2 separate regions of the Homo sapiens genome follow, and region 2 is linked to region 1. The links are contacts of gene promoters, found by promoter capture Hi-C in blood cells and fetal thymus (Javierre and others, 2016). All regions are on one chromosome and are shown on one strand. Each heading gives the region's core, a stretch centred on a gene start or on the middle of the fragment in contact. The rest is flanking DNA. Distances are from core to core; before and after follow the strand shown.

What was found. The method cuts DNA at HindIII sites, captures the fragments that hold promoters and counts their contacts. A CHiCAGO score of 5 or more calls a contact.
Region 2: a contact is called between a fragment that was not itself captured here and the fragment with the promoter of SAMD11 in region 1, in 2 of 17 cell types (erythroblasts and neutrophils). The highest score is 6.6, in erythroblasts.

The regions. Positions count from the first base shown.
Region 1 is chr1:921,947-926,682 of GRCh38, forward strand. SAMD11 (sterile alpha motif domain containing 11) reads left to right here and starts at 1,977. Exons shown (of 14, transcript NM_001385641.1): 1 at 1,977-3,002; 2 at 3,976-4,067. The coding sequence starts at 2,486. It overlaps LOC107985728 (collagen alpha-1(III) chain-like), which reads right to left and starts at 3,658. Exons shown (of 5, transcript NR_168405.1): 1 at 3,572-3,658; 2 at 1,329-1,515; 3 at 1,067-1,197; 4 at 726-789; 5 at 1-563. RefSeq lists enhancers at 1,022-1,600, 3,266-3,812. The HindIII fragment of the contact is 23,463 bases long and covers 1-4,736 here.
Region 2 is chr1:1,216,228-1,220,980 of GRCh38, forward strand. SDF4 (stromal cell derived factor 4) reads right to left here. Exons shown (of 7, transcript NM_016176.6): 5 at 2,542-2,700; 6 at 2,231-2,406; 7 at 704-1,461. The coding sequence ends at 1,285. Among named protein-coding and RNA genes, the nearest start is that of TNFRSF4, 4.5 kb to the left of the region's middle. The HindIII fragment of the contact is 5,266 bases long and covers 1-4,628 here.

The DNA of each region.
Region 1 (4,736 bases), core at 727-3,226:
AGTGAGGATAGAGGGGTGCCTCCAGCTTTGGACCCAGTCAGGGTCTTTTCTGGAAGACACCATGGGCCCCGGGTAGGCCCCCACACCCAGCCAGAAACCCAGGGCCAGCCCCATGCCCCTCCTTAACCACACTGTGGGCCTGAGCATGATGAGATGCTGGTGAACAGGGGAGGGCTCTTGGAAGGGAAAGGAGGCCCCTCTGCTGGCCCAGGTCAGAGGAGAGGCCTGGCCCAAGGGCCTCAGACCCTGAGAGGCACTGCCATGCAGACCTGCGCCTCCCCAGCCTCCCTCTCCAAATCACTGTGTGAACATCAGGGAGTCAGGTGCAGGCGAACCTAGAAGGAGGGTCAGGTGCAGGTGAACCTAGTAGCCCACACACGGGCAGTAGGGTCAGGGCTGCATCCAGACAGTGGGCACTCAGGGCCAGTCCACATGGCCTCCAGCTGGCCCCAGGAGCAGACTTTCCACATGGTATCAGACCTGGGAGAAGACACAGACTTCAGGAGAGGAAGGCACAGGAACTCACTGGCAGCCACAGCTGGGGTCAGGGATGTGCTGGTGTCCTGGATGCAGACAGGTTGATAGGGCCAAGGGTGGCCACATAAGGAAGGGTCACCGACACTCACACCCACACTCCTACCTGGCCCCCCAGACCCCAACAGACCAACGAGCCCCCACAGAACAGGGCCAGGATAGCGGGGGAGGCTTCTGGGCATGTTCCTTGCCTGAGCAGAGCACTCCTGGCCCAGACCTCACTCCGCGGGTTGGCTGTGGGACCAGCAGAAGCCTCTGGTGAGATAAGGTGAAGGAGCCCAGCGTGGTCACCCAGGGTCAGGTTTATGCTCAAGGAAGCTGGTCTGGCAGGAGGTGGTGGTGGGCTGTTCCCTCCCTCGAAGAAGGCACCTGTGCAAACAGGCCTGTGGCCCACTCACCCCTGGACCTGCTCTGGGAGATGCCCACAGGGACATGCCAGCTGCATCTCAAGGGCAGGGGCCAGGGTCAGAACAGGAGGCCCCTTTCTAGTGGATGCAACACCGCACAGCAGCGCAGGACAAGGCTGTCTCACCTGCTGTTACCAACGCCCCCAGGTTGTGTTTCTCTTCGGAACGCTCCAGATGCAATGCCGATCTGGGCACGCAGGGAGGTGGGGGGTGATGGGAAGCTCACCAGGAACCAGGGACTGGGGCCCAGACTGACCTGTCAGAAGGCACCAAGGTGGACGTGGTGTGGCCGGTCCTGCTTCACTAGCCTTGCTCCTCCTAGTGGGAGGCCGTGCACTCTGCCAACCCGCTATCCCCCACCCTCACCCTGCCTCGGATCCACACCACCTTCCTGCTGGGAGGTGTGGGGTGACAGGAAGCTCTTGCCCCACACCATGGTCCTGGCGCGGTCCTGGTGTGAGACATCCTGCATTTGAAACAGCTGTGTGACTTCAGGAGAGTTACTTGACCTTTCTGTCTCAGCGTCTTCTGCAAAAGACTGAACAGGAACTCCGTGGCTCGGGCGAACTCACTCCTGTCAAGTGCATAGGAAGGGGCACGAGTGGGCGGGGAGGTGCTGCCCTGTTATTCACAGAACACTTTGCCCAGGCAACACACTACAAATCCACAACCTCGCTCCCTGCAGGTGCACTGAGACCACCCACGCCCTCCCGGACACCAACGCCCACCATCAGATTCGCTGCGCAAAGTCCCAGAGCCGCCGGCGCACGCTCACACCCCGGCGAGCAGCCCCCAGCTCCCTCCCTCCGAGAGGAGCCCGGTCCGCGACCAGCCCAGCCCATCCCAGTCCCGCGCGGAGTCCTGGATTCCAGCCGCTCGCAGTGACTCGGTACTCGGGATAGTGCCGGGGGCCGCAGCCCTGTCCCGCTGCCGCCGCCGGATGCCCCGAGTCGGCCGTCACGCACCCCCCGCGGGAGCCCGCGCCGCCCGCCGCGCCGGGGCCGTTTAAATGGGCCAAGTTGTGGCGGCGGCGTCGGCGGCGGAGTCTCCCAAGTCCCCGCCGGGCGGGCGCGCGCCAGTGGACGCGGGTGCACGACTGACGCGGCCCGGGCGGCGGGGCGGGGGCTTGGGACCCCCGAGAGGGGCGGGGACTCCGCGACTCCTCGCTGCCGGGCTCGGCCTGGCGGGTGGGTCGGCGAGCCGGGCGTGGGACTGCCCCGGGCGCGGGCGCTGGTGGCCGGGGCGCGGGACTCCAGACGCCCCGGGGAGCCCCGAGGCCCTGGAACTGCGGCGCTCGGCGAGTCGATCCGGGATCGATAGCAGCTCCATGTCTCCGGCCTCTGAGGCCCCGCCGGCCGGCTGGGCAGTCCGGGGAGGCCTGGCGGGCGGCGCGTAGGCGGCGGCTGCGGGCGCCGGGGCGCACTAGCGGACGGCGTGGGCGCGCGGCCAGGCGCCTCCCCGGCCCCCGCGACCCAACTCCAGCCCGGGCCGGAATAAGTTGCTGCCGCCGGCGGAGAGCGGGGCTGCGGAGCCACCGGGGCGCCATGCCGGCGGTCAAGAAGGAGTTCCCGGGCCGCGAGGACCTGGCCCTGGCTCTGGCCACGTTCCACCCGACCCTGGCCGCGCTGCCGCTGCCGCCGCTGCCAGGCTACCTGGCGCCACTGCCCGCGGCGGCCGCCCTCCCCCCGGCCGCCTCGCTGCCCGCCTCGGCCGCCGGTTACGAGGCTCTGCTGGCCCCGCCGCTCCGCCCCCCGCGCGCCTACCTCAGCCTGCACGAGGCCGCCCCGCACCTCCACCTGCCCAGGGACCCGCTGGCCCTCGAGCGCTTCTCGGCCACCGCGGCCGCGGCCCCGGATTTCCAGCCGCTGCTGGACAACGGCGAGCCGTGCATCGAGGTGGAGTGCGGCGCCAACCGCGCGCTGCTCTACGTGCGCAAACTCTGCCAGGGCAGCAAGGGCCCGTCCATCCGCCACCGCGGCGAGTGGCTCACGCCCAACGAGTTCCAGTTCGTCAGCGGCCGCGAGACGGCCAAGGACTGGAAGCGCAGCATCCGCCACAAAGGTGCCGCCGCCCCTCCCTTCGCTGCCGGGACCCGCGGGCCCCGACCCCACCCCCTACCCGACTCGGACACCCGGGAGCCTCCGGCTCGGCCGAGGGGGCGCTGCAGCTCCAGGGCTGCGCGGGGACACCCCCGCCGCGCGCGGAGGCCTCGGTGAACACGGACAGATCGCCCCCCGCTGCACCTCCCCCCAGCTTGGGCCACAGCGCTTGGGGCTCGCGGGCCGCTCCCTCCGCTCGGAAGGTCTCTGCGAGGCTCCTGGGCCTTAAGGCCCGAAGGAAGTTTACGGGGACTCGAGAGAGCGGGCAGGAGGCGGGTTGGGAGGGCGCGGAGCCCCGGGTTCGGGGGAGACTGGAGGGGCGCACGTGCGGCCGGGTGCGAGCGCGCGGCGGGGGAGGCTGCGGGGCGGCGCGGGGGCGCGCGCGGAGCCCGAGCGGCGGCGCCAGGTCACACAACCTGTTTTGGCGCCTGCGGGCGCCTGGGCCCAAGGGTGCGACGCGGGGGCGCCTGAGCCGGGACACAGGGGGTGCGGTGAGCGCCAGGCGCCGCGGGGAGTTAAAAAGTTCGGGACCTGAGCGGTGCGTGGTTCCGCGGTGGCCGCCTCTTCCTGCCGCGCAGGCCGAGGGTCCCGACGGCGCCGCTCACCGCTCCGGGACTCAGCCTTTCTGGGCCCGGCCTGCGGTTCCCTCGGGGCCGGGGAGAGGGTGGAGCGCGGGAGGAGGGGCGCCGGGTGGGGACGCCCAGGCCCTTCGTCGGGGGAGGGCGCTCCACCCGGGCTGGAGTTGCAGAGCCCAGCAGATCCCTGCGGCGTTCGCGAGGGTGGGACGGGAAGCGGGCTGGGAAGTCGGGCCGAGGTGGGTGTGGGGTTCGGGGTGTATTTCGTCCACGAGCCGGGGAGGGGGTACTGGCCCTGCCGCTGACTGCGCGCAGAAGCGTGCCGCTCCCTCACAGGGTCTGCCTCGGCTCTGCTCGCAGGGAAAAGTCTGAAGACGCTTATGTCCAAGGGGATCCTGCAGGTGCATCCTCCGATCTGCGACTGCCCGGGCTGCCGAATATCCTCCCCGGTGGTGAGATGCGGGGCTCGGTTGGGGCTGGGAGTTACTCTCCCCTGCGGAGCTTGTCCCTGCGGTTTTCAGGGTTTTCAGGATCGAGAGTCCTAACCTCACCCCTGCGGGTGTGCTGGAGGGAGCCTCCGAAGGGCAGGGGGAAGCGGCTTTACCTCGTGCTCTCCCAGCCCTTCTACCTGGACGGGGGAGGAGTCCTCGGGCACCCGAGCGCCCTCCCCGGTGGAGACAGGGGGGCCGCGCTTGTCTTAGAGCCTCCCCTTGGGTGCCTTTTAGCTGCTTATCCTCGAGTCCTGGGTCAGGGTCTTCTCCCTGGGAGGAGTAATTCAACGTGGGCCTGGCACTGTGCCCTGTCACCGCTTGGGGGTCACCGTGTTCTCTGGCCCAGCTGGTGAGGTGTGATTCTGGGACGACAGCATTTTGGGGAGCTACAGGCTTGGGTGTGAGTGACTTGTGTCTCTGGGTGCTGAAGGCCAGAGGGTGCAAGGGCCTGGACGTCGAAGTGTGTCCTAGGGACGCAGAGGCTAGCCAGGGGCAGAGTCTTTGCAGTGTGGGCCTTTGGTGTCCAGGGAACTGGAGTCGGAGGCTGGTTCAAGGCCCCAACCCAGGGTAGACAGCTATGGACACCCTCACTGAGGGAGCAGGCAGGAGAGACGGGGATGCTGGGAGCTG
Region 2 (4,753 bases), core at 746-3,245, 290 kb after region 1:
CGGATGGGGAAAGACAGAGTCCAGGCCACCGAAGGTTGGCTCCAGGGAATTACAGCCCCTTAGAGCAGGGCGTGGGACCATCCTCCCACCACCTGCGCTGGCCGTGGCTCTGTGAATCTCGTTTGCCTGGGAACCAGCCCAGGTGCCAACCCGCCCTCTCGGCCCCACAGGGGCCCCTGGGCAGGTGGGCTCAGGGCAGAGGCCGGTCACATGGGCACCACAGGGCAGACTGAAGAGGACACACTCCCGGCTTCCCTGAGCTCCCACTGGGAGAGCCAGGACACAGCCTGGGCCCCCACACGCCACAGAGCAGGACCCCCACCAGCCGTCCTAACACACCCCATTCTCTGCCCCATCTGGGGCTAGGCCTGCCCCACTGCACCCAAAGACCTTGCCATCCTCCACCCAAAACCCCCAGGCGGCTCTGTCTCCTGCCTTAAATGTCCAAACCCCAAACTCAGTGGGCACGTCTGCTGCCCCCTGACCCCTACTCACAAACGCAGCGCTGCCCTCCGTCCTCCCAGAGCCCCTGCCCGTTGCCACCTGCCAGGAGAATCACCTCGAACCGGCCATGACCTCCAACCCTCCACGTGACCCAGCACCAGCCTCCAGCGCTCCAGTGGAAACTGTAACCACAAACCTAGCACGCTGCTGTTGTGTTTTGTTTCACGCCCAAAGAATGAAGCTGACCAAAAAAGGCAACTATATTTAAAGTAAATGTATGTGATTCTTGTCACAACAAATATTTGCATTTTCTCAGCGGCAGCTGCGGGACCTGGGTGGCTCCGACACGCCAGGCCCGGGAAGGACCCGGCACCCTCCCCTGAACTTCCTGGCTACTCATTTCCAGCGAAGTTTAATCTATTTTTAATAATCGTTCAGTTTTCAAGGAAATGGAGGAGCTGTTTTTTCCCACGGAGCGGCGGCCCTGGGAGGGGCCGGGCCCAGAGGTTCCGGCCGCGATGCCGTCAGCGCCTTCGGCAGAGTGACTGAAGCGAGATTTCGTTCTCAGAAGTGAGATGCCACGATTTCGAGGGACCAGGGAGGAGGCGGCGCCGCGGGGCCACAGCCCAGCCCCGCGCCCCGACCGCGTCACAGCCAAAGCCCCGCCGGGGTGCGCGCTGCAGAGGGGACACGCCGCTCATCAACTGGGGCAGCCGCGGTCGGTCGGCCGGTGGCGGGCGGCAGGGAAGAGGTGGGGTCCGGGACAGCCACGGAGCCCGGAGTCACCCGCGAGGCCGCCCCGGTGGTGCGTGGGGGGCGGCGCGGGGCGCGGCCGGGCGCTCAAAACTCCTCGTGCACGCTGCGCGCGTAGTCCACCAGCTTGCTGCCCGTGAAGAACTCGCTGTACTTGAGCACCTCCTCGGGCTCCAGGTGGTGGTTCTGGTTCTCGTCGGCGACGGCGATCATCTGCTTGGCCTCGTTCAGCGCGTTGTACTCGTTCATGGGGTCCATGTAGCTCTGCGGGCGAGCGGGGCACAGGTCAGCGTCGCCTTTCCCCCTCCGAGCTCCGCGGCCAGCCGCACGAAGTGGCTATTTAAGGTGCCTATTGGCTGCAGCGGGAGTGTGGGCACGTTCTGGAAGGTTCCCGAAGGGAGGCGGCACAAATGAAAACACAGGGCAGGGAGAAGCCGGGGGCCCCGGAAGGCCTGCCCGGGGCCAGCAGGGGTAACGGGGCACAGGGGCTACACAGGCCTGGACCCCAGTTCTGAAGGATCCCTAACCTGGGCCGGGCCCACTGGCTGTCGCCAGGAATCACAGGATTCTACATAAAAACAAGATGACTCACTCAGCAGTGGGAGAAAAACAAGCCTACACATGATACCAGTGAAAACGCTTCAGAGGAAGGTGGTAAATTCCAGCCATGTGGCACAGGCCGCCCCGCCCACCTGCACCTGCTGGGCCTTGGACCTGCCTCCATGCTGGGCCCAGCATGAGCTTCCCCTTGTGGTCCCGTTAAAAAGGGGCTGTGAGAACCCTGACGCCTCCGCAAGGGGCTGAGGATGGAGCCCGGCCAGGCTCGCCTGTCTCTGATCCGTCTGAACCTAAACGCCAACAACGGCCATGCAGCCTGGTGGACACCGCTGAGCAAACGCCCCAGTGACCAGCCCAGATGGAGTCTCAGGCCAGACACCAGCACAGCTTCCTGCCTCAGGCCCAGATCCACCAGCCCCTCCCGCCACAGCACCTCGCAGGGCCGGCTCCGGGACACGGCTGCGCCAGGGCTCACCTCCAGCTCCTCGGCGGTCACGATGCCGTCGTGGTTGGAGTCAATGAGCTCCTCAAACTCCTTTTTTCTGTCTTTCACCCAGTTGTCGTCAATGTCCTGGCCCTGCTGGTTCTCCACGGTGCCCACGGGCAGGGAGATGAACTCGGGCACAGAGAGCTGCTTGTCACCGTCCTGGTCTGCGAGACGGGAATGGGTCAGCCCACACCCAGGCTGGGGCTCCCGCAGGACCTGCCCCGACCTCCCGACGATGCCCGGCCCCTGCCAGTCGGTCCTGGGTCCTGGCGTGCCGGCCAGGCTGGACCCAGCCTCACCCAGGTCCCGGACGATCTCCTTCACCATGAACCTGAGCATTCCCCGGCTGTGCTCGGGGTGGAGGAACGACAGGAACTCCTCCTCCGTCAGCAGCAGGTCTGCAGGGGGGCTGTCCGCCTGGTACCAGCGGTCCTTCAGGTTCTCCAGGACTTCCTGTGCTGAGAGGGGCGCAGCCTGTGGGTATCGAGGCCGACAGACGCCAGCACGCAAATCCAGAAAGTTCCGAGAGGTGCTGCCTGAACTCGAGGGACACAGCCACCCGCGAGACCGGGGCCCCACCCTCCAGGATTCACACGTCCCCAGAACATGGCCCAGCCCCTAAGACACAGCCTGGACCCCCGCCAAGACATAACCCAGAGCCTCCCACAGGCCTGATCCCCAAAGGCATAGCTTGGACCCCTCCACACAGCCCGGACTCCCCAAGACAGCCTGGACCCCCCCCTGCCCCAGACCCCCAATACATGGATGGCCCTGACTCCCCACAGACACAGCCCAGACCCCCAGGACATGGCCTGGACCCCCCACACAGCCCAGACCTCTCAAGACATGATCCAGAACCTCCCCATGGCCCAGACCACCCCAGGACACAGCTCAGAGCCCCTCATGCCTGGGACCCCTCAGGATGGGCCTGGGCCCCACCCCCCACACCCGCGCCTGCCCCTCTGGAGGAGCGGAATCACCCTGAAGGCTGACGTGCGCACGGCGCCGCGGGGCGAAGGACTCACTGCCCTTTTCCGTTTCCTTCACGTGTGACGTCACAGGGAGGAAAACACAGTTTCTAGAAATGACTGAGACTGGGGCTGAGCAGAGCTTCCCAGGAACCCTCCCAGCCGGGACACGGCACTGCCTCTGGGTGTGTGGCCCCCGCTCTCCTGCCGTGCCCACCCGGCCCCAACGGGCCCTCACCCCGAGGTCCCCACACATCCCAAGGACCCAAGCCACCCTGGGTCTCCAGGACAGAAACACCACCTCCTGCCCCATCTTGGGGCTCACTGCAGTCAGTGGCCAAGTCCAGTGTTGAGGCCCACACTCAGCCCCCTGCACGTGAGGCCCGACTCTGCCCTGGCCGAAGCCCCTGCCACAAGCCCGGCAGCCTCTGCGTCGCGCTCACTGCGGGATGAGGCCCAGCTGCCGTCCCATCTTATCCCTTTCTGAACAACCTCCATCTACACGACCGGTTCACTTAAAGGAAGACAGGAGTGACGGGGCTGTGGTTCCTGGGGCACCCCTCCCTGTCTGCTCCACCGCAGCTCCTGGGATGGATGGACGGGGCCAAACTGAGACCCATCCAGGAGAGGCACAGACGCCCCAGACAGGCCGGCCGAGAGACGCTTTCTCCAGCACAGGATTCTCACAGCCGCCGCCGAGCCCCAGCACCAACCTCAGGCTGGTGAAGAAGCCTTGAGTCCCAGTCCCTCCCCACGAGCCGGGCCTCTGCTGTTAGGGAAGGATCTGGAGAGACCCTCCTGGATCAGGGAGAGTCAACGACTGCTGTCCCTGTGAGAAGAGGACGCAGACCCAGAGAGAGGCAGCGATGGAGGCGGGGGAAGGGAGTGATGCCCGCCTGCCACGCCTTCACCGCGGTCCCCAGAATCAGGTCTGAGGCGCGAGGACAGCAGCCCCCGGACTCACGCGGTGACCCTCGCAGGAGCCATGCAGGGAGGGGTGGGAGGTCGCAGGAGTGACGCCTGCCAGCGCTTCCCAGGCCCCTCCTCCAGGACCCGGCAGCTGCTCTTCCTGAGCCAGAAACCAAATACCCAAAGAGGTCGGGGGGTCCTAGGCACCCTGAGGTCGGGGAGGCCAAGACGGATCGGACACGGGTGGGCAGGGAACAGCACCTCAGCATGCATGGGGACCCCCAAAACGCAGAGTGAATTCTAAACACACCTCTGCTGAGTCCCAAAGGTAGACGGAGGCTTCACAGAAATGTCACAGAGCTCTAGGTCCAGGTGGGCCATGTCCTGGGCAGAAAAGACCCAAATAAAGTGGCACCAAGGAAAGACAGACACAATCAGAGTTGGGGGGCGGGCACGGGCAAGGCCTCCTGCCCCAAGCACATCGCCAACAGGCCGGACCAACGGGATGAAGCTTAAAGACGCAGTCAGGACAGCAGGGAACGCGGGACCGGGGTGGAGGCACGAACCGTGTGTGGGGAGGAAAATGTAAACCACTCTTTTGGAAAGGAAGTAATAACGTCCAATTTGGCCGGGC